7 separate regions of the Homo sapiens genome follow, and regions 2, 3, 4, 5, 6 and 7 are each linked to region 1. Evidence: promoter capture Hi-C in 16 types of primary human blood cells and fetal thymus (Javierre and others, 2016). All regions are on one chromosome and are shown on one strand. Each heading gives the region's core, a stretch centred on a gene start or on the middle of the fragment in contact. The rest is flanking DNA. Distances are from core to core; before and after follow the strand shown. Region 1 holds the start of BMP3 (bone morphogenetic protein 3). Region 2 has its middle 24 kb from the start of PRDM8. Region 3 overlaps LOC124900725 (a long non-coding RNA gene). Region 4 has its middle 19 kb from the start of CFAP299. Region 5 overlaps CFAP299 (cilia and flagella associated protein 299). Region 6 overlaps CFAP299 (cilia and flagella associated protein 299). Region 7 overlaps CFAP299 (cilia and flagella associated protein 299).

The links. The method cuts DNA at HindIII sites, captures the fragments that hold promoters and counts their contacts. A CHiCAGO score of 5 or more calls a contact.
Region 2: a contact is called between a fragment that was not itself captured here and the fragment with the promoter of BMP3 in region 1, in 1 of 17 cell types (M1 macrophages). The highest score is 5.7, in M1 macrophages.
Region 3: a contact is called between a fragment that was not itself captured here and the fragment with the promoter of BMP3 in region 1, in 3 of 17 cell types (total CD4 T cells, naive CD8 T cells and total CD8 T cells). The highest score is 6.1, in total CD4 T cells.
Region 4: a contact is called between a fragment that was not itself captured here and the fragment with the promoter of BMP3 in region 1, in 7 of 17 cell types (activated CD4 T cells, naive CD4 T cells, naive CD8 T cells and 4 more). The highest score is 9.7, in activated CD4 T cells.
Region 5: a fragment that was not itself captured here is called in contact with the fragment with the promoter of BMP3 in region 1 in 15 of 17 cell types (naive CD4 T cells, activated CD4 T cells, total CD4 T cells and 12 more); the score reaches 25.5 in naive CD4 T cells.
Region 6: a contact is called between a fragment that was not itself captured here and the fragment with the promoter of BMP3 in region 1, in 16 of 17 cell types (total B cells, naive B cells, naive CD4 T cells and 13 more). The highest score is 25.1, in total B cells.
Region 7: a fragment that was not itself captured here is called in contact with the fragment with the promoter of BMP3 in region 1 in 14 of 17 cell types (total B cells, total CD8 T cells, naive B cells and 11 more); the score reaches 11.0 in total B cells.

What each region holds. Positions count from the first base shown.
Region 1 is chr4:81,028,448-81,032,299 of GRCh38, forward strand. It overlaps BMP3 (bone morphogenetic protein 3), which reads left to right and starts at 2,261. Exons shown (of 3, transcript NM_001201.5): 1 at 2,261-3,153. The coding sequence starts at 2,838. The HindIII fragment of the contact is 6,285 bases long and covers 1-3,852 here.
Region 2 is chr4:80,219,981-80,223,832 of GRCh38, forward strand. No RefSeq gene overlaps it. Among named protein-coding and RNA genes, the nearest start is that of PRDM8, 24 kb to the left of the region's middle. The HindIII fragment of the contact is 2,891 bases long and covers 318-3,208 here.
Region 3 is chr4:80,252,663-80,256,514 of GRCh38, forward strand. LOC124900725 (a long non-coding RNA gene) reads left to right here. Exons shown (of 2, transcript XR_007058161.1): 2 at 2,703-2,859. Among named protein-coding and RNA genes, the nearest start is that of FGF5, 12 kb to the right of the region's middle. The HindIII fragment of the contact is 1,973 bases long and covers 1,222-3,194 here.
Region 4 is chr4:80,314,760-80,318,611 of GRCh38, forward strand. No RefSeq gene overlaps it. Among named protein-coding and RNA genes, the nearest start is that of CFAP299, 19 kb to the right of the region's middle. The HindIII fragment of the contact is 3,468 bases long and covers 1-3,459 here.
Region 5 is chr4:80,351,188-80,355,039 of GRCh38, forward strand. All of the region lies in intron 1 of CFAP299 (cilia and flagella associated protein 299), which reads left to right. Among named protein-coding and RNA genes, the nearest start is that of CFAP299, 17 kb to the left of the region's middle. The HindIII fragment of the contact is 453 bases long and covers 1,819-2,271 here.
Region 6 is chr4:80,370,274-80,374,125 of GRCh38, forward strand. All of the region lies in intron 2 of CFAP299 (cilia and flagella associated protein 299), which reads left to right. Among named protein-coding and RNA genes, the nearest start is that of CFAP299, 36 kb to the left of the region's middle. The HindIII fragment of the contact is 1,400 bases long and covers 1,551-2,950 here.
Region 7 is chr4:80,389,022-80,392,873 of GRCh38, forward strand. All of the region lies in intron 2 of CFAP299 (cilia and flagella associated protein 299), which reads left to right. Among named protein-coding and RNA genes, the nearest start is that of CFAP299, 55 kb to the left of the region's middle. The HindIII fragment of the contact is 1,287 bases long and covers 1,067-2,353 here.

The sequences.
Region 1 (3,852 bases), core at 1,011-3,510:
AAGGGAAGGGAGCCATTGTAGACATGCTGTCAGTCTTCAGTATCTATGAATGAAGAATCATGTGGAGTACAGAGTGGCAAATGTTGTGACAGAAATATGCACTGTAGCTAAAGGGAGGGAAGTCTCAAAGATGGTTTCAAAGGGGAAGAGGATGAACTTCTTTGGCAAGGAGGACTGGAGCTGAGGGGGACCCAGAACTATATATTTAAAGGCCAGAGGTGACCACCAAAGCAGAAGAACTGAAAAAGAATTTTCTTCTGGATTTGGCATTTTCCAAGGGCAGAGTAAAGATGTCAGGAACGCTTGAGGCAGGCCTAGAAAGAGGAGGCAGCTGACAGAACTGAGAAAGGGCAGAAAGGAATGGAAAAACAACCAATAGTTCACAGGGAAAAAATCAAAGAGAGAGTTTCCAGGGCCTATTGAATTTTGCAATTAGATCTTCATTATTAATCACAAAAGCTATTATGTTCTTTATGCCAAGCAAAGATCAAACACATGATCTCATTTAATCCTCACAACTACTCTTGAAATATGTGTTATTATCTGCAGAACAGTTCCCGGGGTGGCTAAGGGCAAAATCCAAACCGCAGTGGGTTAAGAAGTGACTGAGTGGGGAGAATGTAGTCTGGATTTGGGATAAATTTAGGATAGAAAGGGATTGAGCCCCTATTAAAGGCTAGTGAGTGCGCCAGTCACTTTAGCACTGCTTTCTAATGTCATCCAAACAAAACTCTAAAAGGAATGTGTTGTTATTCACCATCAAAGAAGAAACTCAGATCTGGAGACATGGTGTGACTCCAGGAGCCTATCTTCTTTTCGATCAACTCCATTGCCCTACAGAGGGGAAGAGGGATAAATGCAATAGACATTGACTGAAGATTTTACTGCATATGGTCAAGAACTGCACTAAACATTTACATGGATTGCACACTGAAACTTCAGTTTAAATGCTAATTTCACTATTAATAGTGTGGTTATCTGGCCTGAGGCCAGAAATCAGACTCCCTGAATTTGGATCTCAGTTCTGTCACTTACTATGTATCCTTTTGCCTCAGTTTCCTCATCTGTAAAATGGGTTTTGCTGTGAAAATTATTTGGTAATATACTTGAAATATAAATAACAAGGCATGTCTAGAGCATAAGTGTGGAGAAAAATGTTAGCTCACAGTTGTTTTTTGTTTGTTTGTTTGTTTTTTGTTTTGAGACAAAGTTTGCTCTGTCACCCAGTCTGGAGTGCAGTGGCACAATCTCGGCTCACTGCAACCTCCATCTCCTGGATTCAAGCCATTCTCTTGCCGCAGCCTTCCCAGTAGCTGGGATTACATGTGCGCACCACCACGCCCAGCTAATTTTTGTATTTTTAGTAGAGATGAGGTTTCACCATGTTGGCAAGGCTGGTCTCGAACTCCTGACTTCGTGATCCACCCGCTTTGGCCTTCCAAAGTGCTGGGATTACAGGCCTGAGCCACTGCGCCAGGCTGCTCATAGTTTAATCTCCATTGTACAGCCATGACAAGAGAGAATTAGGAAGACAAAGCTAGCGACTCTTACATTCTGTTCCGGACTCCGGGATCTTCCACACACCCTTGTTTTTAGCCACCACTGCACCATCCTGCTGGGAAACCTTTTGGGGACCTGTAGGAAGGAAACCTTTGGGGGAAGCTGTAGGTGGGGTTGTGGTGTGTTTGCTTGTTTTCTTATTTGTTTTTAACATGATATTGACTCGCACATATTTCTCACCTCGAGAGAAGATGATGCGGGAGAGAGGGGCGTTATGATGGGTATGCTCTCAGAAAGACAGGAAGCTATGATGACGGGCTGCAGGTGCAGGGGCCCGCAGTGTCCGTCAGAAGAGGCTCGGGAAAGTAAGCGAGAATGGTGTTCACGTTGTGACTTTGTTTGGAATCATAAGACCGAAAAGCCAGGAAGAAGTTCTGTTTTCCTCTGCCCTCTTGCTAGCCACCACACAGCCACTGTTCTTGGAGAATTAAAAAAAAAAACAAACAAAAACAAAACAAAACAAAACAAAAAAACCGTCCCTCCTACCATTTCTTTAGTCCTGAATCTCCTTTTCCCTTCCTCTCCCCAGCCATCCCCACCCCTACTTCCTCTTCTCTCCCTCCCGCTGCCAGTTCTCTGGTTACTCCCCCCCTCCCTTGCTTCTATCCCAGCCTGGTGCAAGCTAAGAGGGCGAGGACGAGGGAGTGGGAGAGATTGGCTGAGGACTCTACAGATCAGCTAGAGAGCGAAAGAACTAAGTCTCTCTCTCTCATACACACACACACACGCACACACGCGCGCGCGCGCGCGCACACACACACACACGTACACTAAAAAACTCGGACCAGCCGCGCCGCAGCTGCTCCAATCCCTGGAAAAGGCAATCGAGCGCCCTCCGGACCGCTGCGCACAGCCCCGGCTCCGACCTGGCGCCCAAAACAGAGCTAGTCCTAGTCCCTCGCGCGGCCAGTTTGGCCGGGTGTTCCCAAAAATAAAGCGAGGAGGGAAGGTACAGACAGATCTTGAAAACACCCGGGCCACACACGCCGCGACCTACAGCTCTTTCTCAGCGTTGGAGTGGAGACGGCGCCCGCAGCGCCCTGCGCGGGTGAGGTCCGCGCAGCTGCTGGGGAAGAGCCCACCTGTCAGGCTGCGCTGGGTCAGCGCAGCAAGTGGGGCTGGCCGCTATCTCGCTGCACCCGGCCGCGTCCCGGGCTCCGTGCGCCCTCGCCCCAGCTGGTTTGGAGTTCAACCCTCGGCTCCGCCGCCGGCTCCTTGCGCCTTCGGAGTGTCCCGCAGCGACGCCGGGAGCCGACGCGCCGCGCGGGTACCTAGCCATGGCTGGGGCGAGCAGGCTGCTCTTTCTGTGGCTGGGCTGCTTCTGCGTGAGCCTGGCGCAGGGAGAGAGACCGAAGCCACCTTTCCCGGAGCTCCGCAAAGCTGTGCCAGGTGACCGCACGGCAGGTGGTGGCCCGGACTCCGAGCTGCAGCCGCAAGACAAGGTCTCTGAACACATGCTGCGGCTCTATGACAGGTACAGCACGGTCCAGGCGGCCCGGACACCGGGCTCCCTGGAGGGAGGCTCGCAGCCCTGGCGCCCTCGGCTCCTGCGCGAAGGCAACACGGTTCGCAGCTTTCGGGCGGCAGCAGCAGGTGAGTGCGCGAGGTGAGACTCCCTTCCCGCGGTCCCGCCCCAGCTTTCTCCCGGGACCCCCCACAGCTTCCTTGTCTGCCCCTTGCTTGGTGGCGCTGCCTAGGGACCTTTCTCCGCCCTCCTCAGCTGCCCTCTGGATTCCTCCGTCCAGTCACACCCCGCGTGTCGCCAGCTGCATCTCCTGTAAGCCCAGTTTTCAAATCCAAAGTGAGAGGGGGAAATAGAATGAAGGCGCGGAGCAGTGGAGGGGTAGGCTGGAGGAGCTTCGTGGAAAAAGGGAAGGGGCGACACCCCATGCCTGTGAGGCCTCCTGCCCTGAGTGACTGGAGCACCTCTAGGGTACCTTATTCTGTTGATTCCTAAATCGGCCAGCGGAAATTCCTTTGGACTGGGCTTTAGCCATGTTTACTAAGAGGCAGATGCCATTTTATGCCAATGCCAGGACCCGAGAGAAATCATACTTGAATAAGACGCCTTCCCCTCTCCTTTTCTCCTTCCCCAGTCGCTTCTCCAGATATTGCACCCGCTCCTAATTCGCGCCCTTTGTGTTACTGTACTATATTTGACACTTTACTTGATAGTTCCTTAGTGGCAAAAAAAAAAAAAAAAAAAAAAAAAACAGGTGCTTGGGTGTTTCGATTATTAAAACGCATCTGGGTAAACAGGGGTTGTACCATCCATCCTGGGAGGAGCTGGGA
Region 2 (3,852 bases), core at 513-3,012, 810 kb before region 1:
AGGCATATTATCCTATGAAAGCCCTAAAAATGATTCTATGTAAAATATTTTCAAATATCTATATGACTTTGGAGAAAAACCAGCTAATCCCTTAAAATAATCTTTCAGAGCTCTTCTTTTCTAAAGGACCTAGAATAATCAAAATCTAAGTAGCTATTAATAATGACAAAAAAACTCATGGTTTTGTAGTTTCTGTCTTACAACAGAGTGAAGTAAAAAAATCATGGAGAATAGGGTAAATTTTAATCCTTGTTTGATTCAGTCTCTGTCTGAATGAAGTTTGAAGTATGTATGAAAAGTAAATCAAAGTAATACTAAGCTTACACACCCCCATTTTATATTCATATTTCTCCAAGTAAGTATGGAGCTGAACTAGCAGAAGTTTTCAACAGTTACTGAAACCTCACTAATACTATAAAACGACAATATTTAGTTGGGGAAGATCTATAAAGTTCAGCTTCTAAAAAATTCCCTAACCTTATGACAATTTTCCTATGTTAGGAAGAGAATAAAATGATAGTTCAAGATGTTTCAGCATATTTCCACATGCTCTTTAGAACTTGCTTGGGATTTTTATGTTTAAATGAAAACATAGTTTGTGAAGATATTTCTCATTTTCTGTAATAAATATCATCTTACTTTTTATTTTACTCTTTGGAAAAGACAGCTATCTTTAAAAAAAACATAATTTATGATGCCTTTTAAGAGAAATTGCATCTTTATCTTAATGAAGATCTCTTCTATTTTTACTATTTCATTACACCGCCATAAATCAACATCTTGTTTTCAACGTGAGCTTTGTAAATAGATTTCCTTTAAGATCCTGAAGTGAGGAAGCAACTGGGGCTGGTTTATGGCACTTGTTCAGCAGCAGAGGATCTGGACTGCTGCAGAGGATTAATCTTATTTTAGAATTCGGGAAACCAGCATGTGCTGTCTGGTCAGTCTTGGAGAGGTGTGCCACAGACCAGCTATATGAAAGGCAAAAGAAATGAAACATCAGTCCCAGAAATGCATGTGCTGATGAGATTCCATCACTCATTTCTCAGGAATCTAATTTGTATCTGTCATAGGCCAATTGGAAATGCATTTTTGACCAATAAATATCATGCCATGTGTGAAAAGTAGTTTTTACAGTTTATCTTATTTTAAACATATTAGATCATATTAAGATAATTTGTGAAATCCTTTTGAAGCAATGATTTTTAAATTTGGAAAGCAATCCAAATAAATACATTATGTTACTAAGAGTGTTTTTAAAATATGTTATCCAGATTCTATGCCCTTAGCCATTTATATTTATAATAAAAACTTATATTTATTCAAACATGAAAAGAGCCTACTTTATCAGTGAAGCTAAGAGCCCACTAGAGGTCACTTTTTCAACTTATTTTCCTTAATAACTGAAAAATTCAACCTAGATTCTCATCACTGTGTCTTTCTTATATGTCCTTGTTCACAGAGTTAGAACTTTTATTTCCTTCCAGAAAAAAAAAATTCTGCTATTTCTCAAAGTTTTTTTTTCTAAAATCCTTCTAATAATACTCCTAAGAACTTTTTCTTATTTCCTGAGGTCACAATTAATTTTTTTTCCATTTTTTTTCAAGATGGGGGTCTCACTATGTTGTCCAGGCTAGAATGCATATAGGTATGATCATAGCACACTACAGGCTTGAACACAGGCTCGAGATCCTCCTGCTTCAGCCTCTGGAGTAGCTTGGGTTACAGGTGCACACCACCTCACCTAGCTTCCTGAGGTCACATATTCTTATTTTTTAAGTATAATTTCTATTGTGACATTTTAAATGACCTTCTTAAGTACCTAATGAAATCTATATTATTTTTGCTTACTTAAATGTTATTATTTGAATACTAGCAACGTCTATTTCCTAAAGTTTTAATGGACTTTACAATGTTATACTAGTATGAAAGAACCAGAGGATGTGCAGCCTTCTTAAGACTTAGAAGTATCCGTTTAATTTCTATTTCTTGCTGCAAACACCAGTACTGCTGAAAAATGCACAGCATTAACACCTGTTGAATTGAATCTCTGTTTTCATCATCTTTTCCCTGGTGATCCATTAGAGCTGTTTTGAACCACGTTTTAAAAAGCAATATTTCTAAAGTGTGAATGCCTGATGTACTTTACATAAATAAAGGACATTTTATCATTTTTTCCTTACATTTGAGGTTTTGACTAGCATGAAAATGTTCACAAGCTGCTATTACGTTGTTAGTTTCACTACTTGTGCATAAAAAGTAGCATTTCAAACATAGTCTTGCGTGTAAACTATTAGGCCATCTGGAATAAGGTTACGGGTGTCCTGGCTTCCTAAACGCCCACATATATTTCTTGTATCCATAACTACATTGATTCTAAAGTATTTTCTCAGTAATTTAAAAAATTTAACAAAATTGCCATTTTAAAACCCAGAAATAGTATGATATCTCATTTATCAATAGAATAGGGACATTAGTAGGAAAATCACATACAGAGGCTTATTCTTACCTTCCAAGGAATATCTATCGCTTTATGTCATTCATCTATCACTCACCTATCTAGATACACTATAACAAAGGCTACTTTAACATAATTTGTGCCACTTTTGGAAAGACCTTATTGAAGAATATATTTATTATCTGAAAAAAGAGTTAAAACATCAGATGGGCTTTAAATTGTTTTACAAATAATAACTAATTTTAACAGTGTTACCTGTTCAGACCTTGTGATAAACACTCACATTCAAATGTGTGTTCACTTAGAATATATATCATAGTATTTTGTTGTTTTGTGTACACAGGTATTTTAAATAAAAAGTAACACTGAACAACTTCTCGTATGTGTTTGGTTTTATTCAATAATAGATGTTGGAGATATCTACGTGTTGTTTCCTATACATCTCTCCCATTTTTTTTTTAACTACACATACTGTCCTTGAGAATGGATGTACCCATAGTTAACCCATTTTTCTAGTGAAGAACATTTAGTTTGTTTCTACTTTTTCCCTCTTACAAACAATGTGGCTGTGTATATCCTTGTATACATGATCAAGCATTTCTCTACAGTACATATTGTGATATAATTGCTAGATTATAAAGAAGAGGCATTTATTTTATTGATTCTGTCAAATAGCTCTCTCAAGTGGCTGCACCTAACAGTGCTTGTAGAATACTAGACAACCTACACCCTTACCAGCATTCAGTATAAAGCTTTAAATTTTTTATTTTCATGCTATCTCACATTTGAAATTGCATTTTCCTAGTTATTAGTACTAGTTAAGTTTATCTTCTTTTCTTATGTTTATTGAATATATGTATTTCTTCTGTGAATTGCTTATTCATGTTTTTGCACATTTTTTTCTATTGCAACATTTGCTTTTTCTTACTAATCCCTAATTTTAAAAGATTTTGAATATCGAAGACATTTGTTATATTCATGCAAATATTTTTCCAATCCATCTCTTGAGCTTTAATTTTGTTTATGACTTCTCTGCCCGAAAGAAGTTTTTATTTTGATAATGCCAGATATATAAATTCTTTCTCCTTTAATTTCAGTTTTGACATCTTGCTAAAGAAGGCTATCCCTATCTTCAAAACAAATGTACCTCTGATATTTTCCTCTAATTATTTTATAGTTATATTGTTATTGTTGTTTAGATCTTCAGATTTTCTGAGATGTATTTTCATGTGTGAGGTATGAATGTAACTTTATTCTTTTTCCCAAATGAATAGCAGATACTCCTGACACCATTTGATGAATAGTCCACATTTTATTACTAATTTAAAATTCTACTTTTATCATAATGTAAATTTCCTTATGTGCATAGAATCATTCCTGGGCATTTTACTATT
Region 3 (3,852 bases), core at 958-3,457, 780 kb before region 1:
CATTTGTCCCAACTCAGATCCACATGCCAAAAAGAATGACTTTTACTATATATAAATTTCAAATAGAAATAAAACCAAAATAAAAGAAAATACAAATTAAGTTTACACCATTGACTACTGTTGTCCAGTTGCTCTTTCACCTTCATACTAAAAAGCAACAAGTAAAATATGAGTGTGCACAGGATTATGTGTGTTTCATCAAAACTCTAATCTCTCCCTTGCTATTAAAATGTTTGCTCTTGTCTGATTTTTTCCATTTCAAACACAAGAGGGACTCTTTAATATAGCTTTAATATGTAGACAGGCTAGGAAATCCCCAAAAGAAAAATGTGTTTTGTAACATACTGATTTGACAAATGGAGTGTCATTCTAAGGCTTCATTCTGGCACTACCTGACAGGCACCTTTGTTATCTAGAAGAAATATGGCTACACTTGCTGGTAGAACACATAATGCAGGTACCAGAAAGTCATCACTCCAGTAATGACAAGACACCAGAGATCATTATTTCCTAGCCTGAAAACCTTGTGTACCATTGTTAAAATGGAGGCCTGTCATTTTACTGTATGTCATCTGATGACATTATCTCTGATATTTATGACAAAGGAAGCACCTTGTGACTTTTACCACTCAAATTAAATAGCATTTTTTAATCTTTCACTGGATTGAAGAAATCTGACTTAGGAAAGGAAAGCCCATTTAGATACATTCGTTGACTTGCGTTGAAATGTGAATTCCTCTCTCCTCCAAAAAGATATCCTCCAGAATCTCCAAGGGGGAGAAAGAGGGATTCTGTTTTGATAGTTAATGGTCGTGAGGCTTACAAGTTCCCAGAAACTGACAATACTGCTTTGTTTATAGGCATTAGCACCTTAATTTTCACAGCAATAATTGAAACCGTACTCTCTGAGGCAGAGGTTATTGGTGTTTCAATTTTGCAAAAGAGGAAATTAAGGTCCAGAGAGGTCAAGAAACTTGCTCCAGGTGGCAGAGCCAGGAAGTGTTCTGAGCGTTGTGCATGTCACGGAGGCTCGCATGCTTTATCTTCTAGGGTCAGATGTGCTGCTGGAGAGGGATAATGCTGCATAGCTCACCCAAGCAGCTGCCAGTGCTGATGCTTAGATGTGTGCTGATTTCTTCCTGTCAGATGCTTGAATCTTGTGTCAATTCATATTAGGACCTTAGTATTTCCTGCTTCTCAGCATTAACATTTCCTGTAATAAGCTTCTTGTGATTCCCTTTAAGGACCTCCAACCGAAGAGTCCCCCAGAGTTTTGCTTAGTTAACAATCCTGCTTTCAGTGGCAGTATATTAACTATGAAACAATTGCAAAGGAATAGTATAAGAGTTTCCCTCTGCCTTATTAATAAATAAAAAGGTAATACAAATCTTTTTTCTTTTCTTTTTTTTTTTTTTTTGAGAAAGGGTGTTGCTTTGTTGCCTAGGCTGGAGTAGGTGCAGTCACAGCTTACTGCAGCCTTGAACCCTTGGGCTCAAATGATCCTCCCACCTCAGCTTCCTGGGTAGCTGAGACTGCAGGCTCAGGCCACCAGGCCCAGATAATTAAAAAAAAAAAAAAAAAAAAAACTTTGGTAGAGATAGGGGGTCTCACTATGTTGCCCAGTCTGGTCTCTAACTCCTGGGTTCACATGACCCTCTTGCCTCTGCCTCTGAAAGTGCTAGGATTACAGGCATGAGACACCACATCCAGCCACAAATTCTTAATAGCAATTTCAAATGTTAATAACAAACCCATGGTGATCTTTCACATTGATATAGACTCTTTTTATTTTTTTGAGACAGAGTCTCACTCTGTTGCCCAGGCTGGAGTGCAGTGGCGTGATCTCGGCTCACTGTAACCTCTGCAGTAGCTGGGATTACAGGTATGTGCCACCACGCCCGGCTAATTTTTGTATTTTTAGTAGAGACAGGGTTTTGCCATGTTGGCCAGGCTGGTCTCGAACTCCTGACCTCAGGTGATCCACCTGCCTTGGCCTCCCAAAGTGCTGTGATTATAGGCATAAGCCACTGTGCCCGGCCTGATAAAGACTCTTTATGATTCTTCTGTTTCTTAAAACATGTAATCTTTTTAATTTTTAATCTTAGCCATGCTCAAAACTTTTACTAATATGACTTGCTATAGTAAACATACAGTACTGTTGCTTATCTTTCTCCAACAAATCAAAGTACATAGTAAGTAAAGAGGCCTGAAAGTACTTTTTAAAACTTTAAAAAGTAATCATATATGAGGAAAACAAAGTTGAGAAGGTTGTATCTTGGTTTTACTAATGGAGAAACTGAGGTGAAAATGGGTTGAAGTTTGTTGCAGCTTAGCCACTGCAAAGTTTAACTCAATCAGGGTGAAGTTATTTTAAGACACATAGCTTTAACTACCATGGAATGAGGGTATCTGCTATAAAGGTATTCTGATATGGAAACCTGAAGTGAACTCCCTTTCTTTTAGAGAGTGGACAGGTTATCATTATGGATCAGAGCCAAAAGAGATGACACGTTGGTGACATTTGTTACCTTTATATAGTTCTGGCAACAACAACAAAAATACTACTATTTGAAGAAGATGGTTGAAAATGCAGATGGACTTCTTTAATTATCTTCCTTTCCTTTAGTGTTGTCCTTCAAAATAAGGTAGATAAATTTCATTCATTCTATAATCCACAAATATTCACTGTAACTGTCTTTCAGCTGCTGAAATACCAACAGAGAATCATATCAACCTTGTAAAAAGCTATTGGACCAAGCTCTTCTGCCACGAAAAACAAAGAAGATGATTAATTTTATTTGCTTTACTGTTTGCATTTCCCTAAGACACAATGAACTGATTAAAATACTTTTGTACTCATTCATTAGGCTTTTTTGTATATTAAGGTGCATTATTTTGACATACTTACCACATAATTATATTTGTGTAATGATTTCACATTCATAGTCATGCGTGTGTTATTTTCTTCTCACAACAAAGCATACCAGAGGAAAAGTTATAACTCCCATTTTTACAGAGAACAAAAATAAGGCTTTGGAGTTTGACCATGGCTATGCAGCTACTCTGAGTGTGTGTGTATGTTTATATGTGGGAGTGGGCTATAGAATTAGACTTCATGTATATTGGTTTCTACTAGCACTTTCTATATTCCCCGTGCTATCTTTACAAAATGAACTAAGTTTTGAAGCACCACAAGCTTCTACTCAGCCCTGCTGGCATTTTCAGGACATCTGGATGACAAGGTTTTCTTTGTTTTGCTTTGAATTGTGGGTACCGCAAAGAACCAGTAGCATTTCTGGCACACGTTCCAATTTTCTGATTCAAAATCTCTCTGTCTATTTGATGTTGCTACTACGAAATTCATATAGAAAAAGACGTTAAAAGGTTAAGTGGTTTTGGTGTGTGTAAGAACAAGGGTGAACACCCTACTGCTTCTCCTTTTTTTCCTGGATTCCTCTCACATTTACCTACTTCATTTATGGGGTAGAGAGGGATGGGTGGAGTTGTAAAAGAAACATAATAAAAGCAGAGGGAAATAAGAGCAGCACCTCTGAGGAAATTTCCTGCATTCAAAAATTATAGGCTGGAATAAAATGTCTGGATTAGAATTTTGTTTCTCCTCATTCTACTCTGCCTGAAGCCACATGGAGTAAAGCTGAGGTTCCTGAGAAGTGAAAGTTCTTGACAATGAAGCCGAAATAATGTATCTCAAGCTGGAGAGCAGACCCTCAATCTTCAAATGTATTATTTATTCAAAGAATAATTATTGGGTACCAACAATATATCAAGTATCATTCTCGGTGTTTGGTAAATACTTGTGAACAAAAGAAAGATTTTTACCCTCTGAAGCTT
Region 4 (3,852 bases), core at 476-2,975, 710 kb before region 1:
GTGAGTACATATATTTCCTTTATAGAAGCACATAATGCAAAATATCTAAGAACAGAGCTGACGCTGTATTACAGATTAATCTTCTCCTTCTGGTGAAAGAGTTTAACAATACTGTAAGTGTAGCGTCTTTGTCTCTTTTAATCTCTCAGTCTCTTTCTTTGTCAGTGTTTCTGTCTCCTGATGTATTAAACCTCTTAAAAGAGACAATACTTTTGTGGAAAAACTTCAAGGTCATACTCCTTGTAACATGTCCTGAGTTCTGGAGGTCACAGCCTGGGATCAAGAGGTTGTCGCCAAACTCAGTCCCCTCTGTGGTAAAACACTAACCTATCAGCTGAACTATTGAATTGGTGCCTCAGAAACATAATTCTAACAAATACAACCATATGTGGATAATACATGGATTTTGGACAGAAACAGACTTGCTAAAAGTTTCGTAGTGTTCCCAGAACCAGTTATATAATTATTGACTAATTTTTATTACTTTGGTATCAGCTTTGTGCCAAATGTGGGCAGTTTTTATTTTTTAACCCAATCTGTAGCAAAGTGATTGCAGAAGCAGATTTCTATGTAGAAGGGAGAAAGTAGCCATACATGGTAAGTATTTACATTTTATGATGTGGGGGATACCTACATTAATAATTTAATTTGCCTTTTGCAGACAGATGTTCTGTTGTGTTATTGATATTGCTGCAAACTTATTGCCACTTACTCTCAGTGATGAGACTAACAGTTTTCTATACTTTTGATTGCTATGTAAAATCATGTTATAGAGAAACTTGTCTAATTTTATGGAAGCAAAGACTACTGGTCCTGTGATTGGTTAGGTAATATAATCTTCTCAGAATAAATAGTAACAACAGCTTTATTTTAGCAGGAAAGTAAGAGTTTTACTATGTAGAAGTATAGTAGTCAAAGGAAACAATTGTCCAAACAATTTATTTTAAAGAACAGAAAACAAAAAGAAGAAAAAATGTTTTATTAGAGATAATCATATACATCATGCACTTCATAGCAACGTTTCAGACAATGATGGATCACATATACAATGGTGGCCCCATAAGATTATAATACAATATTTGTACTAAACTTTTTTAATGTTTAGATATGTTTAGATACAAAAATACTTACCATTGTGTTACAATTGCCTACAGTATTCAGTACAGTAACATGTACAGGTTTGTAGCCTAGGAGCAATAGGCTATACCATAGAGTCTAGGTGTGTAGGAGGCTATACTATCTAGGTTTGTGTAAGTACACTCTATGATGTTTGCTCAATGACAAAACCACCTAACAATGCATTTCTCAAAATGTATCCTTGTCATTAAGCAACATATGACTGTATTAGTGAAAACTAGATTTTCACCAGATGACAAATCCAGATAACTAAGTTCTTACATCTGAATATAGTACCTGCAACTGTTTGACTTAAGGCCAAAACATTTTAAATAATTATTTTAAAAAAGCATTATTAAGAAATAAAACTATCTCTATTTGAGATGACATAGTTTTCTATATATATATATATAGAAAATTCTAAATAATCCACTAAAAATCTGTGACTAACAACCTCAGCTAGATCATGACATACAAATCAATATGTAAAAATCAATAATATTTCCACATTTGCAATAAACAGTCCAAAAATGAAATAGAGTAAACAATTTCATTTACAATAACCTCAAAAGGAATAAAATTCTTAGTAAACAATTTCATTTACAATAACCTCAGAAAGAATAAAATTCTGAGGAATAAATTTAACAAAAGAAGTGTGACACTAATACTCTGAAAACTATAGAACATTATTGAAAGCAATTAAAAATCTAAGTACATAGAAATATATTCTGTATTCATGGATTGGAAGACTTAATATTGTTAAGATGGCACTATTCCCCAAATTGATTTATAGATTCAACGCAATCCCTATCGTAATCCCAGCTGGCTTCTTTGTGGATCCTACAATGCATACGGAAACTCAAAGGACCTAGAATAGCCAAAGTAATTTTAAAAAAGAAGAAAGTGGGAGGAGTTGCACTTTCCAATTTCAAAATTTACTATGAAGCAATAGTAATCAAGACAATATTGGCGTAAGAATATGCATGTAGATCCATAGAATAGCATCGAGAGTCCAGAAATAAACCCATATATTTGTGGTCAATTGATTTTCACTGAGGGTGCTAAGACCATTCAATGAGGAAAGAAGAGTTTGTTCAATAAATTGTGCTGAGACAACCGGATAGTCACAGGAAAAAGAATAAAGTTGGACTACTACCTCATACCCCATATGAAAATCAACTTGAAGTGCATCAAATAATTAAATATGAATGCTAAAACTATAAAACTCTTAGAAGAAAACATAAGGATAAATTTTCATGACCTTGGATTTGGCAATGGTTTTCTAGATGCATTACAAAAGTATGAACATCAAAAGAAAAAAGATACATTAATTGGATTATCAAAATTAAAACCCTTTGTGCTTCAAATGTTATTATCAAAAAAGTGAAAAGACAACCCTCAGAATGACAGAAATTATTTGCAAAACATATCTGATAGGGAGATCATATCAAGAATATGGAAATAACTTGTACAATTCAATAATAAAAAGACAACCCAGTTGAAAAATGGTTAAAGAATATGAAGGGACATTTTTTCAACAAAGATACACAAATGGCCAAAAGGCACATGAAGAAATGTTTAATATTTTTAGTCATCAGGAAAATGCAAATCAAAACCACGATGAGATGCCGCTTCACATTCACTTGGTTGGTTATAATCAAAAGTCTGAGAATAACAAGTGTTAACAAGATGTGAAAATGTTGGAACCCTTCTAAACTGCTGGTAGGAATATAAAATAGTGCAACTAGTTTGGAAAGCAGTGTGGTGGTTCCTCAAAAATGTATACATGGAGCTATCATTTGACCCGTCAGTTACACTCCTAGGTATATACCCAAGAAAAATGAAAACATATGTCCACGCAAAAATGTGTACATTGATATTATAGCAGCATTATTCATAATAGCCAAGAGATGGAATCAACCCAAATGATTATCAGCTGATGAATGGATAAACAAAATGTGGTATATCTATATAATGGGACATTTTCAACCAGTAATAGGTATGAAGTACGGATACTTGCTACAAGTTGGTTAAAATATTATATTAAGAGAAACAATTCAGTCCAAAAAAACACATGTTACATGATTCTATTTATATAAAATGTTCAAGATAGGAAAATCTGTAGAGATGGAATGTAGATTTGTGGTTGCCTGGGGCTGGGGGTGGGAGTTCGGGTGTTTTGGGAGGTGAAAACTGGAGTACAGGGTTTCTTTGGGGGATGCTAAAATGTTCTAAAACTGATTATGTTAATTGGGTGGACAACTCTGTGAATGTACTAAAAACTATTGAATTATAGACTGTAAATTTGCGAATTGTGTGGTATTGTGAGTTATATTTCAATGAAGCTTTTGCCAAAAACAGTATTACTTCTGAGGCAACAGTTATACAATTTTGGTATTAAGTATTCAGCCCTCTCCACATGGGTTTTTCAGTTTTATGTGTGCAAAATAACCTTAAATTTTTAGGCTGGTTTTTTTTTTTTTTTTTGAAAAGGACTTTATTTGGTATGGATGAGCAAATGTCCAGTGCACTTCCAAAATAGATTCATTTAAACTTGGTTTGTGACTTATTAGCATTGTGAAGTTAATGGTTGAAAAGGTCAAGAGATATGAAATAGGAGAACAAATTCTTTAGACATTTTTCCTTTTAAAACAGGTGCACCCTATCCTGAGAAACAGTTGGTGTAACCCCATATCCATTTTTGTTGTTGTTGACATCTCAGCAGAAAATACTATT
Region 5 (3,852 bases), core at 795-3,294, 680 kb before region 1:
AAATGAAAATGAATGAAAAGCACCAGAAATGCTAAATATGTGAATACAAATTTTTTCTCAGTTTTATATTTAAAGATTATTGATTATTTAAAGAAAAATAATGACATTGCATTTTGTGGTTTATAACATGCACAGAAATACAGTATGAAACAACAATAGCACAAAAGATAGCAGAGGATAATGTTGCAATGGGTTCTTATACTTGAGATGGTGTAATATTATTTGAAAGTAGAATGTAATAAGCTAATAATTCTTGTAAATCACAGAGTACCTGCTGAAAAATAAAGTAGACATATAACTAAAAATGTAATAGTGGAGATAAAATGGAAATAAGAAACAAAAAATAGAAAGCAAAAATAATCAAATATCAAAGCAAATGGGACTAATAAGAAAGAAATAACAAGGTAGTATATTAAAACCCAACCATACTGAAAATTACATTAAATGTAAATGATCTAAACATTTCAATTTAAAAGCAGAGATGGTCAGAATAGATAAAAGTTCAAGAGCCATATATGCTGTCCCACCTTAAATATAAATACAACAATTTAATGTAAATGTATTAACATTAACAGATTAATAATAAAACATTAAGATTAATATTAATGTTATAGTTATAGTAATATATTAATAACATTAAATTAACAATCTATTAATGTTAATACATTAAATTGTTTTATAATTAATGATTTATTAATAATTATGATTTATAAATAATGTTAATATAATGTTAATTTTATATTAACATTAATAGATAATTTTAAATAGATTAAAAGGATGGGAAATATGTATTATACAAGCATAAAGAAAAGGAGATTTATAATGTCTATATTAATATCAGGCAAAGTAGACCTCAGAACTAGAAGTATTTCAGGGAAAAAGAAGGACTTTTTAATATAGATAAATGAGTCAATCAATACATTAGCTTACATGCCTCATGCCAGATCCTCAAAATGCGTTATGCAAAATTGATAAGAATTGAAAGAGTAGACAAATTCACAATTGTTTCTAGAGACATAAACATTCTGTTTTCAGTAATTGATAGAACCAGAAGTTAGAATAAATGTAAGTATGTAAAAGATTTAAAGAGCAGTCAAAGGCCAGGTGCAGTGACTCACACCTGTAATCCCAGCACTTTGGGAGGCTGATGTGGGTGAATTACTTGATATCAGGAGTTCGAGACCAGCCTGGCCCACATGGTGAAACCCCGTCTCTACTAAAATACAGAAATTATGCGGGGACAGTGGTGCACACCTGTAATCCCAGCTACTTGGGAGACTGAGGCAGGAGAATCCCTTGAACCCAAGAGGCGGAGGTTGCAGTGAGCCAAGATTGTGCCAGTGCACTCCAGCTTGGGCGACAGAGTGAGACTCTGTCTCAAAAAAATAAATAAATAAAAGAGCAGTTCACACAATAATAGAATACCTATTCTTTTCAAATGCACATGGGACATTTATGAAGAAGGACCATATGCAGGGTCATAAAACAAGTCTCAATACATTTAAAATACTGAAATCATACAAAAGTATATTCTGTGATCATAACAATTAAAACTAGAAATCAACTATAGGAATATACCCCTCAAATTCCAAAATATTTGGATAATAAACAACATAGTTCTAAATAACGCAATGTCAAAAAAGAAATTAAAAGAAAAATTAGAAAAAAATTTGATTTGAGTAAAAAAGAAAACAAAATATATAAATGTTTATTGGATATACATAAAGGAATCTATAGAGGGAACTTCACAGTTTTAAAAGTTTATATGGGGAAAGGAGAAAGGTCTAGAAATTAATGATAGTAGCTTCTACCTTAAGAAGCTTTAAAACAATACAAATTGAGTCCAAGCAAGTAGACAGAAGGAATAACAAAGAGCAGAAATCAGTGAAGTAGAAAATTGAAAAATAATAGAGATCAATGCTATCAAAAGTTACTTTTATAAAATATCAATAAAATTGACAAACCCCTTACTAGGCTGATTGTAGTCACCCTAAACATCTCTTCCAAAGTCATACTCCCTTCTTGGGGCAGTTCTCTTTAAATTACTGCTTATTGTGGATAAAAAGATGTGGCCACTTTAATCAATTTGGGTCAACTCGAAAGGACCATCCAACTCCAGAGCTGCTGAGGCCCTGTTATAAATTATCTCACTGCCCAATCCTGCTTTCTTCACCCCTGTGGGAGTGCAAATTCTGAGAGTGCTCTCCAGTAAATTTTCTGCACACAAATCCACATCCCAAAGTCTGTTGTGGGGAGACACCTCCTGCAATAAGCTTATTCCAAAAATGTCATATTGTTTTAACATTAAGAAATGTGGTATTATAAATTATCCAGATTGCCAAAAATTAGTAGAAGATGGCATTTGAGTATGCCATGCTTTCTGACACTCCCAACTCTAACCTTTCTATCTTGAGTCAAGTAGCTGTTCCTGGAAGCAGTTAGCTTGATACAAGTGAAGCTTGAAATCTGTGGAGGTCAAACAAATTGTTGTGGGGCTTTCTCCCTGGGCAGGTTGAGAGGGCAGTATCTACACTATCTGTGATACGGTTGAAAGGGCAGAGAAACTAATTAATAGTACAGAATAGAAATAGAGAAATCACCTCTAATATACTTAAGAATTGAGTATAAAGAAATGTAAAATTTCAAATCAGTGGAGAAAAGAAGCAATACTTAACAATGTTTCAGCTGTGTCTTTTGGAATAAAAAAACTTTTTGAATAAGTAAAAGTATTTCTCTTTCAACACCAGGCACCAAAATATATCCTAAATGCTTTGAACGTTTTGGAGTAAGAACTATTAAGAGTTTCAGGAAAACAATGACCTAAGAAGACTGTTTGCAGATATTTTGCAGACACTTATTTAATATATTTATTACACACACAAAGTTGTTACTAGTTAGTAATAAATGAGCAAAGGGTTCATTTAATAATTCAAAACAATTCAAAAGGAAGAAATGCACATGACTGATAAATGTGTGAACAGATGGTGAATCTCACTAGTAATCAAAGCAATACAAATCAAATTAGGATTTCATATCATTTTCATTTCAGAGGAAGGCAGTGACCTGAAGGCACAATAATTATGTACAATATCTGTCCTTACAAATTGTCTGGAATATGTAATCACTAAAGTTTTATTGTATATATACTTAATGGAAAGGTGTTCAAGATGTACAGTTAAATGTTGAAGAAGTAGGTCATGAGAGATTTTACACAGCATGATTCACTTTTTTTGGTAAAATGTTTAAATGATTAAATCTGCAAACTTTTCAATGACCTTTATTTGAACTTTATTAATTACAACATATTTTGATTTTTAAAGCATATATATGACTTTTTTTTCACTTTTATTTCAAGTTCAGGGTTACATGTACAGGTTTGCTATATAGCTAAAAGTGTCATGGGGATTTGTTGTACAGATTATTTCTTCACCCAGGTATTAAACCTAGTACCCATAGTAGTTTTTCCTGATCTTCTTCCTTCTCCCATCCTCCTCCCTCTGATAGCTGCCAGTGTGTGTTTTTTCCCTCTATATGTCCATGTGTTCTCACTGTTTAGCTCCTACTTGTAAGTAATAACATGTGGTATTTGATTTTCTGTTCCTGTGTTAGTTTGCTAAGAATAATGGTCTCCAGCTCCATCCATTTCCCTGCAAAGGACATGATCTTACTCATTTTATAGCTGCATAGTGTTCTATGGTATATATGTACCACATTTTCTTTATCCAGTTGGTAATTAATGGGCATTTAGATTGAATCTAGATTGATTCACTGTTGTGAATAGTGCTGCAATGAATATACATGTGCATGTATATTTATAATAGAATGATTTATATTCTTTTGGGCATATGTCCA
Region 6 (3,852 bases), core at 1,001-3,500, 660 kb before region 1:
CCTTTCTTCACTGGGGATTACAATTTGACATGAGATTTGATGAGGACACAGATTCAAACCATATTATTCTGTCCCTGGGCTCCCCAAATCTCATGTCCCTCTCACATTGCAAAACACAATCATGCCTTCCCAACAGTCCCCCAAAGTCTTAACTCATTCCACTATTAACCCAAAAGTCCACAGTCCAAAGTCATCTGAAACAAGGCTAGTCCCTTTTGCCTATGAGCCTGTAAAATCAAAAACAAGTTAGTTACTTCCAGGATACAATGGGGGATAGGCATTAGGTAAGTACCCTTGTTCCAAAAGGGAGAAATCGGCCAAAAGAAAGGGGCTACAGGCCCCAGGCAAGTCTGAAACCCAGCAGGGCAGTCATTAAACCCTAAAGCTCCAAAATAATCTCCCCTGACTCCATGTCTTACATCCAGGGCATGCTGATGCAAGGGGGGCTCCCAAGGCCTTGAGCAGCTCCACCCTTGTGGCTTTGTGGCTTCACCCCCACAGCTGCTCTCATGTGCTGGCGTTGAGTGCCTGTGGCTTTTCCAGGCACAGGGTGCAACTTTTGGTGGCTCTACCATTCTGAGGTCTGGAGGATGGTAGCCCTCTTCTTACATCTCCACTAGGCAGCGCCCCAGTGGGGCCTCTGTGTGAGAGCTCTAACTCCACATTTCCCTTCCTCACTGCCCTAGAAGAGGTTCTCCATGAGGGTTCTGCCCCTGCCGCAGGGTTTTGCCTGGACATCCAGGCTTTTTCATATATCCTCTGAAATCTGAGTAGAGGTTCCCAAGCCTCAACTCCTCCATTCTGTGCACTTGTAGTCCTAACACCACATTGAAGCCATCAAGGCTATGGCTTGCATCCTCTGGAACAATGGCCTGAGTTATACCTGAGCCCCTTTGAGCCACAGCTGGAGCTGGGGTGGCTGGGGTTTGGGATGCAGGGACTGGTGTCCTGAAACTGCACAGGATAGCGGGGCACTGGGCTTAACACATAAAATTGTTCAGTCCTCCTAGGCCTCCAGGCCTGTGATGGGAGGGGCTGCCACGAAGGTCTCTGGAATGCCTTTTGAGGCCTTTTCCCCATTATCTTGGCTATTAGCACCTGGCTCCTTTTTTGTTATACAAATTTCTGCAGCCTGCTTGGATTTCTCCCCCCAAAATGAGTTTTTCTTTTCTATCACATGGCTAGGCTGCAAATTTTCCAAACTTTTATACTCTGTTTCTCTTTTAAATATAAGTTCCAGTTTTAGATTATGTCTTTGCTCACACATATGAACATAGGTTTTTACAAGCAGCCAGGACATATCCTGAATGCTTTGTGCTTAGAAATTTCTTCTGCCAAATACTCTACATCATCATTCTCAAATTAAAAGTTCCACAGATCCCTAGAGCCAGGGCACAATGCAGCCAAGTTCTTTGCTAGGACATAACAAAGTGATCTTTGCTCTAGTTTCTAATAAGTTGCCTCTTTCAATCTGAGACCACTTCAGCCTACCTTCACTATTCATATCACTATCAGCATTTTGGTTACAATCATTCAACAAGTATCTAGGAAGCTTTAAGATTCCCCTCATTTTCCTGTCTTCATCTGGGTCTTCCACATTTTTCCCATTATCCAGTTTCAAACCTCTGCCCATTACCCAGTTCCAAAGCTGCTTCCACATTTTCTATTATCTTTATAGCAATACCCAACACCTAGTACCCATTTTCTGTATCAGTCCATTCTTGCATTGCTATAAAGAAATAACTAAGACTGGGTAATTTATAAAGAAAAGAGGTTTAATTGGCTCATGATTCTTCAGACTGTATAGGAAACAGGGCAACATTTGCTCAGTTTCTAGAGAGACCTCAGGAAACTTACAATCTGCTGAAAGGTGAAGGGGAAGCCAGCATTTCACACAGACTTAGCAGGAGGAAGAGAGAGATGGAGGAGGTGCCACACATTTTTAAGCAACCAGATCTCACAAGAACTCACTGTCACAAGGACAGTACTATGGGGAAATCTGCCCCCATGATCCAATCACCTCCCAACAGGCCTCACCTCCAACACTGGGGATTACAGTTTGGCATGAGACTTGGTGGGAATGCAGATTCAAACCATACGAATGGGTTCCCTGGTCGGGATGCAACTTTGTATTGGATTTGATGCTTGTGTAGCAGGCGTTCAATGAGTCCCCAGATAGCAGTGCTGGCTAAGGCCGAAGAGGAGAAAAGCCAAACTCTGGAGTTGTGAGAAAATATATTTCTGTTTTAAGCCATCCTCTCTGTGATACTTTATTATAGCAGTCCTAGAGAACTAACACATTGAGTAAGGCTGTAGTATATCAGGGAAAATGTATGAAGTGGCAGGCCCCCAGAGCTTTGTAGGGTTTATCTGCCCTCCTCTGGAGTGACCATGCCTTTTGAAAGCCAGGTACTACTCATTTCTTGTTCATCCTTTCCAATCAGCGTGATGTCACTGATGGAATCAATCAATGTGAAGTTCTGTGGGATGCCCAACCAGCCCAGATTCCATTATGACAGAGGACAGGAGAATAAACATAACCCCGAGACAAAATTGTAAATACATGTTATTGTCTGTTTAATGAGAAATCAAACTGATTTTGACTTTATTTCCTAATTGAGGCAGAAAAGAACTTATTCACGAAATCAATAGCTACATAGTATCTATCTGAAGACACATTAGTCTGTTCCAGCAAGTAGCACTGCAACTGCAATTAGGGCTACTACTTGGAGGAGCTTGTGGTAGTCTACACTTATTCTCCAGGATTCAACATGGGGGTTGTGCCAGCTGCCATGTATGACAATCTGAATTAGACATTTCAGTCAATGATCCCTGAGTGGCTGCATAGACACAGTGGACCTAACCCTTGCATAGACACAGTGGACCTAACCCCAAGGGTTAGGATAAACTAACCCTTGGCCAGGACTCCATTTCTCATCTGACCCCCATAAGCTTCCACTCTAAGAGCGGGGCCACAGTGATTCTTTGGATCTCTAGATACCAGTCTCAGCTTGAATGCAGATTGAATGCAGATTCAGTAGTCCATTAACTGTGTGGGTATTACATTTTCCTTTGTGTGTACTCATTTGAGTAAATGCCCATAGGTCTCTTTGGGGGAGAAGAGAATCACTGCAATGAATACTTGCTATGGTGAATACTGCATGTGGTCACATATTTAGTCAACAAGTTCTTGGTCTAAAAACTGAATGATATATGGCAGTGCATCGTGCTTTTTTACTGGAATGGCTGCCTTCAACCTCAAGTAACCATCTTTAATTTCTAACTATGATACAAATTGAGTTATTCCTTTATTGATTGCCCATCTGTTTTGTTCAAGGATTACCATGTTCTATAAACCATCTTCATAACTTTCTGCAGTGCCCTTGGTGGTCATTGGGCACATTACATCATTGGTCCTTATGATAATTACAAGTCCCTGGTGTCTTATGGTTAAGTTCCATCACTTAGCTTCTGTTGCATCAAGGTACTATTATGCCCATTGTGCTTAGGGTAGCCTAGGTATGCAACAAGGCTTTTCTGCATTCAGCCCTGGAATGCATTGGAGAGCCATCACTGAACTTCTTAATGATTCTGATGCTTCAGTAACTAGCACATTTTTTATGCTATTAACGACTGGCTATCTTCTGGGTTCTTCTATAGACCATGATCTTCCGGTGAGTTTTCTGGTCTCACACAATATGTTTCTTCTAGGATTGCCATTTTCCTGAGCATTTTCCTCTCTTCTTCAAAAGTCTCTCTCTGAAATTTAGGCCTTTGAACTGCACTCAGTGTAGGCCATTGCTTGTTCCAGGTTTCTTGGAGTCACGCTAGCAGAGTTTGCCTCATCTTCTG
Region 7 (3,852 bases), core at 460-2,959, 640 kb before region 1:
AGTTCCCTTTTATATGCTCTTTAATAAGTCAGATGATCATACTATTTTTTCTTCTTTATTAAGTGTTGAAAGACATTTAAGGAATTTCTAATACGAAATCCTCCTTTTATGCCTGGGATAAGCTCAACTGGGTCATTTATTATCTTTATTATTCACTGCTGGATTGGGTTAGATAATAATTTATCTGGATTGTCTTTTGGATTTTCTACCCAGTATTATCTGCTAATCATTCCTACCTAGTATTACAATAATGAACAATTCTTCTCTTTAGAGCTTCACTTTCTAATCACCCTACACTCCAACTTACTCCATCTCTGGGTTTGAGTTAGTCTTTCCGAAGTCCCATTTTAAGAGTCTAAGGATTTATTAAAACACACTCCATTATCATAGTTCTGATCCCACACCTGGGAAATTAAAAATTAAGGCAATTTGCAGCTGTGGAACATTGTAGTCCAAGCAAGAGACCTGTGCTTACAGTGGCCAAAGACCAGATCAGAAATTGAATGGTATTTGAGGAGTAAATTAAAAAATTGAATATATTTTGTTTTAGTTGCATCAGGTCAAGATACTTTAGCCGAAATGTTTATTTGAGGAGAAAGGCTTGACTCTATCATTGAGAAAACAAAATAGACTGAATGATTCATATTCTGATACCACATTGGCTAACCGAGTTCATTACTTTGTGCCTTTATTGCTTAACTGATAATAAAAATAGCTAACCTTATTGAGCACATTCAAATATTCAGACAGTACTAAAATCCTTATATAAGCATTTACTATTTACTTCTTTAAACACATTTTATGGATGTTGAAATTGAGGCACAGAATTTTAAGAAAGTGCCTAAAGTCTTTCAATTAGCACATAGTAGAGCTGGAATTGAAATTGAAGCATAGTGTCTCCAGAGTCCCTGGTGGTTTCCAGTTTAATAATTGACAACCAGAGTGATTTTTCCAGAATTATTAACATAGATTTATTGAGGTATAACTGACAAAAATTATACATATTTATAGTATGCAATGTGATGTTTTGAAATACATATACATTATGAAATGATTATTATAATCAAGCTTATTAACATTTCCATCACAATACCTTTATTTTATGGTGAGAATATTTAAGGTCTACTTTCTTAGCACATTTCAAGTATACAATATGGTGTTATTAACTATAGTTGCTATTCCGTACATTGTATCTCCAGAGCTTACTCATTCTAGATTACTGAAACTGTATACCCTTTGACTGACATCTCCCGATTTACCCTACCCCCCAACCCCCTGGCAACCATCTGTTCTCTGCTTTTATGAGTTTTACTTTTTATATTCCACATATAAGTGAGATCAAACAGTATTTGTCTTTCTGTGCCTGGCTTATTTCACTTGACATAATGTCCTCCAGGTTCATAGTGATGTTGCAGATGATAGGATTTTCTTCATTTTAAAGACTGAGCAATTCTCTCCTCTCTCTCTCTCTATATATATGTATATATACACACATATATGTATATATGTATATATGTATACACACATATATGTATATATGTATATATGTATACACACATATATGTATATATGTATATATGTATACACACATATGTATATATGTATATATGTATACACATATATGTATGTACACACATATGTATATATGTATACATGTATACACACATATATGTGTATATATGTATATATGTATACACACATACATGTATATATGTATATATGTATATATACACACATATGTATATATGTATATATACATATACACATATATGTATATGTATATATGTATACACACATATATGTATATGTATATATGTATATACACATATATGTATATGTATATGCGCACATATATGTATATATGTATATACACACATATGCATATATGTATATACACACATATGTATATATGTATATATGTATGTACACACATGTATATATGTATATATGTATGTACACACATGTATATATGTATATATGTATGTACACACATGTATATATGTATATATGTATACACACACACATATATACACACATATATATACATATACACATATATACACTCACACATATATCCTGCATTTTCTTTATGCATTCATCTATTGATGGACACTTAGGTTGATTCTATATCTTGGTTCTTGTGAATAATGCTGCAGTGAATATGGGAGTGCAGATATCTTTTCAACATGATAATTTCATTTCCTTGTATACTCAGAACTTGGATTGCTGGATTATGTGGTAGTTCTATTTTTAATTTTTTGAGAATCTTCATAGTATTTTGCATAATGGCTATACCAATTTGTATTCCTACCAATAGTATGCAAGGATTCCCTTTTCTCCACATACTTGCCAAAGCTTGTTATCTTTTGTCTTTTTGATAATCGCCATTCTAACAGGTGTGAAGTGTTATCTCATTGTGGTTCCGATTTGCTTTCCCTGATGACTAGTGATGTTGAGCACTTTTTCATAACAGTCACACACTGTATAACAACATTTTGATCAATGACAGACTGCGTATGCAAGGTGGTCCCATATGATTATAATGAACCTGAAAAATTCTTATTTCTTGGTGATGTCATAGTGCAATGCATTATTCATATGTTTGTGGTGATGCTGGTGTAAAGAAACTGCTGTGCTGCCAGTCATATAAAATTATGGCACAGATTCTGGGTGTGGTGGCTCATGCCTTTAATCCTAGCACTTTGGTAGGCTAAGATGGGACTACTGCTTGATCCCAGGAGTTTGAGACCAGCCTGGGCAAATAGTGAGTCCCCCATCACTACAAAAATTACAAAATTAGCCAGGCATGGTGGGACATGCCACAGACACTCAATGTCAGCCAGTGAAGAAAGCTAGGAAGTGGTGTGTACCCCAAAAAGCCACAGCGGTGGAGCTGCCCAAGTCCATGGGAGCCCATCTCTTGCATCAGTGTGACATGGAGTCAAAGGAGATCATTTTGGACCTCGTGACCTGCATTTGAGACATGGAGTCAAAGGAGGTCATTTTGGAAATTTAAGATATGACTTCCCTATTGGATTTCTGACTTAGACCTTTTCGGCCTTACAGGCCTTTCTTTGGCCTGTAGCCCTTTCATTTTGGCCGATTTCTTCCATTTGGAATGGGTGTATTTACCAGATGCCTTTACCTCCATTGTATCTAAGAAGTAACTAACTTGCTATTGATTTTACAGGCTCATAGGTGGAAGGGACTTGCCTTGTCTCAGATAAGACTTTGGGCTTGGACTTTTGGGTTAATACTAGAATGAGTTAAGACTTTGGGGGACTGTTGGAAGGGCATGATTGTGTTTTGAAATGTGAGGACATGAGATTTGCGAGGTGCCAGGGACAGAATAGTATAGTTCGGCTGTGTCCCCACCCAAACCTCATCTTGAATTGTAATTTGAATTGTAATCCCCATGTGTTGGAGGTGGGATCTTGTGCAAGGTGATTACATCAAGGGAGTGGTTCCTCCATGCTGTTCTCATGATAGTGAGTGAGGTCTCACAAGATTTGATGGCTTTATTAATGGGCTTTTCCCTGCCTTCACTTGACACTTCTCCTTGCTGCCGTCATGTGAAGATGGATGTGTTTGCTTCCCCTTCTGCCATGATTGTAAGATTCCTAAGGCCTTCCCGGCCACGCTGAGCTGTGAGTCAATTAAACTTCTTCCCTTTATAAATTACCCAGTCTTGGGTATGTCTTTATTAGCAGCATGAGAATGGACTAATACAGACCCTATCTCAAAAATGAAAAAAAAAGTGTAGCATATATAATTGTGTATAGTACATACTACTTGATAATATTAACAAATGATTATTTTACTGGTTTATGTATTTAATATACTATTTATCAT